Linked DNA regions of Homo sapiens: region 1 is linked to region 2. The links are contacts of gene promoters, found by promoter capture Hi-C in human tissues and cell types (Jung and others, 2019). All regions are on one chromosome and are shown on one strand. The core of a region is centred on a gene start or on the middle of the fragment in contact, and the rest is flanking DNA. Distances in the headings are between cores, read along the strand shown.

Region 1 (5,513 bases), core at 2,761-5,260, 210 kb before region 2:
ATTTAATTTTACACACACACACACACACACACACACACACACACACACACACACACAGAAAGAGAGAGACATTTCATCCTGCCTTGGCTTCTCAAAGTGTTAGGATTATAAGCATGAGCCAGTGCGCTCAGCCTGTAATGAAATCTTTTATTTCCAGTAATACAATGGCAAAGGACATTAGTAGATAACCTAAAAGAAGAAATTCAAATTATTGCTGAACCTTGTTAGACTAATTATTTTTATATTTTATAATTTTAATAATTATTAGACAAAAATATTTTGAATATATATATATGGGGAAATTATTATGTATTTGTAAAAAATACATTGGCCGGGCATGATGCTCATGCCTGTAATGCCAGCACTCTGGGAGGCTGAGGTGGGCACTTGAGGTCAGGAGTTCAAGACTGGCCTGGCCAACATGGCAAAACCTGTCTCTACTAAAAATACAAAAAATTAGCTGGGCATGGTGATGCGTGCTTGTAATCCCAGCTACTTGGGAGGCTGAGGCATGAGAAGTGCTTGAACCCATATGTATATATGTATGTGTATGTACACACACATACACACACACACACACACACACACACACACACACACATATGTATATAGCTGCCTCAAAGTCTTTTATCCCTGATATAATTTATATATTTTATGTATGGTTGTTTTTTGTTAAGGATAGCAAACTAGGAAAAATAAATATTTTTATTTCAAAATCGTTTTAAAATAAATAGTAGAATTAATTAAAATAAAAGTGGCCCATTATTCTACCACTTAGTTCCAATGACAATTGAAAAAGAGAAGTAGTACATGTATGTGGTTAGAAAATGAAAAGAGAGGCTTTTTCTAGATCCTCCATCTCCTTAATCCTTTAAGGTAACTACTGTAAGATTTTATATATCTATTCTACCAGAATGTTTAAAAAATGTATTTGCTATAATGTATGTGCACATATTCTTTAAAAAAGCAATTTACATGAATTTAATCATTCTATACACGTTATTCAACATGTTTTTCTCACTTAACATAGAGAGCCTAATCAACACATAGACAAATCTAAATCATTTTTAAGGGCTAAAGTTTTTGTATTAATTTACCATAATTTATTTAACATGTCCCTTATGGGTAGACATTTGGTTAATTTTCAATTTTTTGGCTATTTAACAGTACAGGGTACATCTATTCACATTAATGGTAAAATTTTAAATTTTGGTAGTTTTTTGACAAATTGCCTATGTACTTCTACTACTAGAATTTTATACTTCTACTAAAAATATATATACTTTTCTAATTTTGTACATTTTTAATAGTATATGAGACACTTGTTAGGGCTGGGTTTTATCAAACATTTTATTTTTTTATTAATGCACATAATGAGTATTTTTTTTTGAGACAGGATCTCACTCTGTTGCCCAGGCTGGAGTGCAGTGGCGTGGTCACTGCTCACTGCGGTTTAATTTTTTTTGTTTTTTTGTAGAGATTGAGTCTCCCTGTGCTGCCCAGCTGGTCTTGAACTCCTAGGCTCATGCAGTCCTCCGGCCTTGGCCTCTCAAAATGTTGGGATTATAGGCATGAGCCACTGTGCCCAGCCTGTAATGAAATTTTTTTATTTCCAGTGATAGAATGGGGTGGAGTGCAGTGGCTCATGCCTGTAATCCCCAGCACTTTGGGAGGCCGAGGCAGGCGGATCGCTTGAGTTCAGGAGTTCAAGACCAGCCTGAGCAACATGACAAAACCCTGTCTCTACAAAAAAGGAGCCATATGTGGTGATGCACTTGTGGTTCCAGCTACTTGGTGGCTGAGGCACAAGAATTGCTTGAACCTGGGAGGCGGAGGTTGCAGTGAACCAAGATTGGATCGTGCCACTGCACCCCAGGTGACAGAGTGAGACTCCCATCTCTGAAAAAAAAAAAGGTAATAGAATGGCAAAGGGCATTAGTAGATAACATAAAAGAAGAAACACAAATTACTATTGAACCTTGTTAGACTATTCATACAACACTATGTTAAACTTTGCTAGAAACTATAAAAAATACAAATCAAAACAAGATTCTATTTTTTACTTTTAAGATAGAGATAACAAAAGATAACACCAGTGTTGATAAGGATGTGGGAAAAGGGTAATGCAAAGCAATATATACTTTCTGGAGGATAATTTCACTATATGTTTTCAAGAAACTTAAAAATACCTTGTAGCGTCTGATCCCATAATGCCATTTCTAAAAATATAGACTAAGAAAATATTTAGAAACCAGCATAAGAATGCTCACTGCAGCCTTATGTCTAAAGCAGAAATTGGTAACAGTCTATAAGCCCAGTAATAAGAAAACTGGTTCATCAGCTATGGCACATTAATTCAATGTACATATATGAGCAGCAACGAAAAGATGCTTAGTGATGTCAAGATTTTCCTTGTATGATTTTTAATACGCTAGACAGAAGAAAACAAAGGGAATATGCTTTATAAAAATTTTTGTTTATTGTGGCTGAATTGTTAATAATCCTCAATGCCTGGGGAACATTTGCTTTGTTCTTGTTTTTATTACTATTTAGAGATAGGGCTTTGTTTTGTCATCCAGGCCGGAGTGCAGTGGCTTGATCATGGCTCACTGCATCCTCGAACTCCTGGGCTGAAGTGATCCTCCTGCCTCAGCTTCCTGAGTAGCTAGGACCATTGATGTACGCCACCAATCCTAGAAAATTTTTTATTTTTTGTAGAGACAGGGTTTTGCTACATTGCCCAGGCTGGTATCAAACTCCTCACCTAAAACAGTCCTTTTGCCTAAGCCTCCCAAAGTGCTCACACCTGTCATCGTGCCTTGCTTGTTCTTGTTATTTTAATATTGGGTCACATTGTAGAGATATCCTTATATACACATGTATAGAAGAAATATGAAATGAAATACACCAAAATGTTTCTAGTGCATTCTTTGTGTAATAGAATTATGGATAATTTAGGCTTTTTTTGGTACTCCTGAATATTTTGTAGTGAATACTCTTACTTTCTTTTTTTCCCCTTAGGACATTCCAACCTACCTACTTACCTTCCTTCCTTCTTATTTATATTTGAATAAGAAATACTATCACATGGCTCAAAGTTGAAAAGGTACAAAAGGGTCTACAGAGAAAAATCTCTCACTCCTGTGCCCAGTCACTTAATTCTCATCCTTGGAAGCAACCAGTGATACCATTGTTTTGTGAATCCTTTCAGAAGTATTTCATGCCTAACATCAGTTTAATCAGAAAAAAAAAGGCATAACAAACATATTTAAAAGAAATTTTTTTCAAGTTAATTTAGGGTATTTGGAGCTCTTCCGATTTGGACTTCTATCTAAGTCTGAGTCAACCAGACTTCGTTGTGATTGTAGCTATGGTATTGTCTCAAAAAAGACAAAAAATTAGCCAGGTGTGGTGGCGTAGCCAGTAAAATCTTAGCCTTGTGGCTTTAATGATGTTCCTCAAATTCTGAGATAAGCTTATTTTATTCCTTCTATGCTAATATTGGTTCACATTTCAGTTATGCATATTTGTTTCTAGGGAAAATCCTGCTATTTTTATCATGGAGTTCATAAAATTAGTGATCAGCACACATTACAGACTTTCCAAGGGATGTGCAAAGCCTGGGATATAGAAGAACTTGTCAGCCTGGGGAAGAAACTAAAGGCCTGTCCATATTACACAGCCCGAGAACTAATACAAGATGCTGACATCATATTTTGTCCCTACAACTATCTTCTAGATGCACAAATAAGGGAAAGTGTGAGTATATGTGTAAAAATGAGAACCTTCTTCCTACTCATGGAGATGTAAATGTTGAATGTAAAAGCTTTTAGATGTTTTAATTTTTTTTGCTTTAATTTATGTAAATAAATTTGTGTAAACATATTAGAGTACTGAAAACATATCCTAACATGGGTTAAAATCAACCCACTCATTTTAATTTCCAAAATAACAAGCAGTTTTAAGGAACATAGTGACTGAAGTGGGATTACAGCAGGATTTCTCTTTGCATTTATGAATATTCAAAAAGAATTATTTAGAAACATTTCTCTGAAAAAACTATGTTTTGAAGAACTTATGTGGGGGAATAAAATTATGCCTTGTGAGCTTTGAGAAGTGAACTTCAGATAATGGCATTTGTGTTTGTTTGCCTGGTTCTTTTTAGAGACATGCAATTGTTAACAGCATAAGACAAAAAGTGAATAATTTGGCATAGTCAATTGTTATTCCTGTCTTCAGATCTGACTGCACAATTCATCTCAGCTTTCTATTTCTTTAAGATCCAAATTAATAGGCATTATGTTTACTACCCCTTCTATCCTACCTCTTATTTGGTTATCTCTTAACTAGATCTCTTCCTTCTGAGACACTGTGCATATCAATGCCAGGTCAGTTTTCCAAATATTGCTTTTATTACATCCTTTTATCTGCCTAAAAATCTATTGCTTCCTTTGCTCATGAGATAAAGTTCATATTTCTTAAGCTTACACTCAAGATGCTCAATAGTCTGACCTGGATCTGCCCAATTTGAATCCTTCAAAAATTACCTCATACTCCCTTGAGGATACCTTGTTCTTTACTCTATCTTTGCTTTTGATGACACCTCTTTGGAATGCCCTGTCCACTCTTTGTCTGTCCAAATCCAAATCCTACTTATCTTTTAAACCCCAATATATTTCCTACTCTTCCATGGTTTTTTCTCAACTTTTCAGCTGTCTGTGTATTCTTACTTCCTCAAAATAACTCATTGACAATTGCTTTGTGACAGTTCCTTGTATTAGTCAGTACTCTTTCTATTGCAAGTGACACAAACCTACCCTAAAAAATGCTTAAGAAAAAATACTTGATTCTCTTTATTGTGATGGCTTTATTCTCAGGCAAGTTCTCACTCTTGCTTATGGAACAAAGATAACCATAAGCAGCTAGCTCACCTGGAGAAAAGAGCATGGCCACATATTAGTCCCTCCAAATTACTCTGGTTGGCCTACCGTGGATCACATGTCTGTTCCTGAACCTGAACCAGTCACTGTGACCACAGAAGGATGGAATACTCTATTTAACTGACAATCCTGGGCCTTACCCCCATTGTGAAAGTGGTGATGTCCTTTGATTCACAGGTTAATAGTCCTGCCAGCATCACATGGGAGTTGGAGAAGAACAATTCTCCAACTCCCATGTTGGAGAAGGATTGCAGGACAGATTAAAACAAAACATATATATTATGTTAGTATTTTAAGAGTCATTTTAATCTTGTATTGTTATTTTACTTTTAAAGGTTTTATGCTTTTAATCTTGTATTGTTATTTTACTTTTAAAGGTCTTATGCTTTTAATCTTATATTGTTATTTTATTTTTAAAGGTCTTATAATTAGTTTGTAAAATTATGTTGGAAACACTTTCATAGTGGGATTTTATACCTTTCTGTGTAGCCTGTGGTACCTTGATCCAGACTCACTGACATATTTTTGTTGCTGTCGATAGGTTTGCAAAGTATTTTAAGAGTAAAAAAATGG
Region 2 (5,131 bases), core at 1,631-4,130:
ACTTTTTAAAAACATACTCTAGTAACACTATGGGAACATATCATACATGGCCCCTGAAATGCCATGCCTGTTCTTTTACTGATTGATTAACTGAAAGTCTTTTTATAAATTATAATAATGTCAGAACTGTAAATGCACATTTTCATGGATAATTACAAAGTCAAACTCATTTAACCACCTGCGCTGGATCATTTTATTTCAAATTGATTAACCTGGGAACTGTGTTTCCCAGAGTCCCCTTCTGTGCATGGCCAAAAAAGCAGCCTGTGTGAGATCTGGGAGACAGAGGTGAAGCAGCAGCCCTTCTCTCTGCAAGTTGCTGTGGTGGGTGTGGATACAGAGAGACGCAGAGGTCTCACAGGGTCCAGGTGTCCTTGCTCTTCCCTGTGCCACACGCAACTCTCCTCCCCAACAGCGGTCCCAGGCTCATGACCAGATGTTTGGCTGCAGACCCAAAGAAGCAACAGCTTCCCACAGACTCCTTCGGCAGCCAAAGGAATCTGTGCAGTCTCATTTTGGCAGCTGGATGCGCTTGGTTTCTCAGCTGGATCAGTTGGTGACTCCACTGGTCCTCCAACTTCCTCTTGAGACGTTACTTCCCCAGCTCCTCCCACAGTCGTGTAAGGTCTAATTCCTATAATAAATCCCTTATCCTATGACCCAAAGAGGTTCTTCTTCCCTGATTGAGCTGCAACTAAATACACCATTATCCAGGTCAAAAACTAGAACATCACTAGCACCCCAAAAGTCCTCTTTATGTCCCTTTCTGATCACACTCCTCTCTTTTCTCCTAGAGGTAATCATGATCTGACTTTTATGATAATCATTCTCACTTTTTCTTTCTCTCTTTTTTTTTTTCGAGACAGAGTCTTGCTCTGTCGCCCAGGCTGGGGTGCAGTGGCGTGATCTCGGCTCACTTCAACCTCTACCTCCCGGGTTCAAGCAATTATCCTGCCTTAGCCTCTTGAGTAGCTGGGATTACAGGCATGCCACCACACTCGGCTAATTTTTGTATTTTTTTAGTAGAGGTGGGGTTTCACCACGTTGGTCAGGCTGGTCTCAAATTCCTGACCTTGTGATCCTCTTGCCTTGGCCTCCCAAAGTGCTGGGATTACAGGCGTGAGCCACCACGCCCGGCCAATATTAAGTTTTCTAAGATTTATTAATGTGGTTGTGTGCAACCTAGTTTACTAATTTTCACAATATGCCACAATTTATATCTTCTGTTCTTTTTAAGTGGTTTGTTTATATGTCTCTCTTTCTCATTTGATGAACAGAAACTGTGTCTTACCTATCTTTGCATGTTCCTCCCATTTAACCTGCTCAACCCAGCATATAGCACAGTATTTGCCTATCTCAGCTAGGACCTCAATACTGAATTACTACCCTATTGTGCTTCTTTAGTGATCATTTTCTTCCTTCTATGCAGCACCTATTCCAAATCTTTTCCATCATACATAAACCTTTAACTCTCTTGCCTTCCCCTCACTCTCAGCAGACAGCTCCTCTAGCCTCTTAGAAAAAAAAAAAAATAAATGTTACCAGATGGGAACTCCTTTGACATCGTGCTACCAAACCTAAAAATCTGCTTGCACCCAAATCCATATTTTTCTTCTTTCCTCCTATTACAATGAAAAGGATGCCTTTCCTGCTATTCAAGATTAGTCGTTCTACTTGTGCCATGGATTTCATTCCTGGCTCCTCAGAACCTTGACTGATCAACTTCCCTCTTTCATTTGTATTTAACTACTCCTTTTAGAATTTAAACATGCTCAGGTCTCTTCTTAGGAAGAATATGTGTTTACCTATCCGCCAACTATAATTATGTCTTCAGCTACTGCACTGTCTCCTCCCGCACAGTTAAACTTCTTATAAGAGTACTCTGATCTAATCCAATCTTTCCATTTCTTCAATTCCTACTTCTCAGCCCACTGCAATCTAACTGCCTTCTGAGTCATCCCCTGTAACTAAAGCAAAAACTCTCTTAACGTATATTTAGCCAACATAATGCAAATTGACTGATACTCTCTGTTGCCTTCGTGAAACATATTGGTGGAAGCCAACGGCACACTCTATAGCTAACGTGCTACTGCCTAGTACATACGCGGATTTTTGTTTTTTGGTTTTCTTTTCTATGGATTTTTTGTTTTCTCTATACAGTTATAGGCTTACCAAGAATCAGTTGTGTTTATTTAACCTATTTATGCTGGGTATTCTTATTACTATAATTATGTAATTTAACTGATTATTACGTAAACTCATTATATAACTGTTATATGAAATATAAATAGAAAAAATAAAATAGTTGTTTCTGTGCAAATTAAATTGAATGGTTTGGAAACATTTACAATTTTCCATTCATTGGGGGAGCAAGAAAAGATCGAGGGAAACCATACATATCTAGGATTCTGCGTTCAGATTGCTTCATGAGCACCTTTGAGTTCTTGGTCTATTTTAAATAAACTAAAACAGGGAATGATAGACAATACCTTTATAGATATGATTTATGTGAGAAAACCGAGGCTGAATTCCAATAAACAGATAATACTCAAAGAAAGGTTTACGGCTCCTATCAAAAGATTGGCAAATAAAAGTACAGTGATATGTTTTCAGTTAAAACAGCATGTTAAATAATGTAAATTTTAAAAAATGATTCCCCAATTTAGTCATTTTTTCAAGGAACTGACCATTAACCAATTCCCAAGTGCCACTCACACCGCACCACTCAGACCGCGTAACTTACAGTCTCTAAATCCAATAGATCCTTTTCCATTCCAACTTGACCTCATGGCAGTGTAGCACTGCTGACAAATGTCTTTTTAAATGCTCTCTTTTTGCTTCCCGCTGCAACAAGCGTGGGTCACGCTCTCGCTCGCGCTCTTTCTGCCGCCATCTTGCTTCCGCGTTCCCTGCACAAAATGCCGGGCGAAGCCACAGAAACCGTCCCTGCTACAGAGCAGGAGTTGCCGCAGTCCCAGGCTGAGACAGGGTCTGGAACAGCATCTGATAGTGGTGAATCAGTACCAGGGATTGAAGAACAGGATTCCACCCAGACCACCACACAAAAAGCCTGGCTGGTGGCAGCAGCTGAAATTGATGAAGAACCAGTCGGTAAAGCAAAACAGAGTCGGAGTGAAAAGAGGGCACGGAAGGCTATGTCCAAACTGGGTCTTCTACAGGTTACAGGAGTTACTAGAGTCACTATCTGGAAATCTAAGAATATCCTCTTTGTCATCACAAAACTGGACGTCTACAAGAGCCCTGCTTCGGATGCCTACATAGTTTTTGGGGAAGCCAAGATCCAAGATTTATCTCAGCAAGCACAACTAGCAGCTGCGGAGAAATTCAGAGTTCAAGGTGAAGCTGTCGGAAACATTCAAGAAAACACACAGACTCCAACTGTACAAGAGGAGAGTGAAGAGGAAGAGGTCGATGAAACAGGTGTAGAAGTTAAAGACGTGAAATTGGTCATGTCACAAGCAAATGTGTCGAGAGCAAAGGCAGTCCGAGCTCTGAAGAACAACAGTAATGATATTGTAAATGCGATTATGGAATTAACAGTGTAACCATCTGAAAGCAACTTTTTTTGGTGTCTCAAAGGAGTAACTGCAGCTTGGTTTGAAATTTGTACTGTTTCTATCATAAATAAAGTTATGACTTCTTGCTGGAAAAAGAAAAGAAAAGAAATGCTCTCTTTTTTTGGTCTCCAAGTGCCGTACTCTCCGGATCTACCTTCTTCCCTGGCTTATTCTTCAGTTTCCTTTGTGGTCATCTTTTCTTCTACCCAGTTCTTAAATATTAGTGCATCTCAGGGGTCTTTCCAAGGCCTTGTGTTCTTTTCACTCTGCACACTCAACATAGGTGATCAGATTCATTTCTCTTGCTGATGATCCTCAAATAGTTTCAGTCCCATCTTTGTCCTAAGACACAGATTTGGATATCCAGCCACCTACTTACCGTCTTTCCTTGGATACTCTCCCGGCACCTCAATCACAGGATAGCCAGAAGTATACTCATCATCTCTCCTCTACCGGATGACTAGAGCTCCTTCTCCAGTGTCCCCAGCTCAGTGAAAGTCACCATCATACCCTTCATTCCCAAACCAGCTACTCGATACTCATCCTTAGCTCTTCCCTATCCTTTAAAATCTCTGGCACCCAGTAAATCTTCAAGTCCTATTGCTACTGCCTCCTGAGCATTTCTCAGATTCATGCACCTCTCTGTGTCTCTACTGCCATCATCCTCTCCCAGATTTTCCTAATAACCTACTAAACCGTCTCTCTACCTCCAGTCTCTCTTCTGTCCGATCCATTCTGCAACCAGAGTTGCATATCCCTTCTTTAGTGTATGAGCAACTGAAATAGTCTGAACTCTTCATGTGGCTTATTAGGCCTTGTATGGTCTGGCCTCTGACAGTTTTCTGCTATTCCCCTAAATGCTCTGGTCATACTGAACGTCTTTCAGTTCCTGCAACATCACACTCCCTTGCCCTCAAGCGTTTACACATGCTGTTCCCTCTACCTGGAACATTCCTAGTCATCTTTCAAATCTCGGCTTCAAAATCATTTCCTCAGGAAAGTTTACCCTAATCCCTAGACTAGCTTAGGTCTCTCTGAAATATGTTCTCATTACGCCTCTCTTTGCTGTTTAGTATTTGTCTTCTTAATTGGATGAAGTCTCTGCAAGAATAGTGGCCATGTCTTTCCTATTCACTGCTGGGTTCCTAGCCCAGTTCCTATAGAGTAATAGGGACTCAGTAAATAATTGTTAAGCAAATGAATGAAAGAACAAATTGACAATAGCTAGCCCTCAATAATTGTTTGTTGGATGAATAGTTTTAAAATCAAATATACTATTAAATACAACTTGCTGTGCAGAGGAGAGTTGCCCTCAGCAAACTCACTGCCATGAGATATGTTATTCCAGAATCTGAAATTCTGGAGTTCTTTTTGGAATTGCCTTCATAACATGTGATATGTTCTCCTAAACACTCTAGATAGTGGCAAATACTCACACTTTGAGATTGGATTTTATTTTGGAAGCAGCAAAATCATTCAGAGCCAAAATGGGTGATCAAGCTGGGTAACTCCACCAGAGGTGAAAAATTAATTATGTGTGACTATAAATTAAT

The links. The method cuts DNA at HindIII sites, captures the fragments that hold promoters and counts their contacts. A contact is called where the count stands out against the background at its distance.
Region 1: a fragment that was not itself captured here is called in contact with the fragment with the promoter of NACA2 in region 2 in 3 of the 25 tissues and cell types used here (aorta, dorsolateral prefrontal cortex and mesenchymal stem cells).

Annotation. Positions count from the first base shown.
Region 1 is chr17:61,799,499-61,805,011 of GRCh38, reverse strand. BRIP1 (BRCA1 interacting DNA helicase 1) reads left to right here. Exons shown (of 20, transcript NM_032043.3): 8 at 3,538-3,759. Among named protein-coding and RNA genes, the nearest start is that of BRIP1, 61 kb to the left of the region's middle. The HindIII fragment of the contact is 4,813 bases long and covers 1,604-5,513 here.
Region 2 is chr17:61,588,968-61,594,098 of GRCh38, reverse strand. It overlaps NACA2 (nascent polypeptide associated complex subunit alpha 2), which reads left to right and starts at 2,880. Exons shown (of 1, transcript NM_199290.4): 1 at 2,880-3,678. The coding sequence starts at 2,919. The coding sequence ends at 3,566. The HindIII fragment of the contact is 8,743 bases long and covers 1-5,131 here.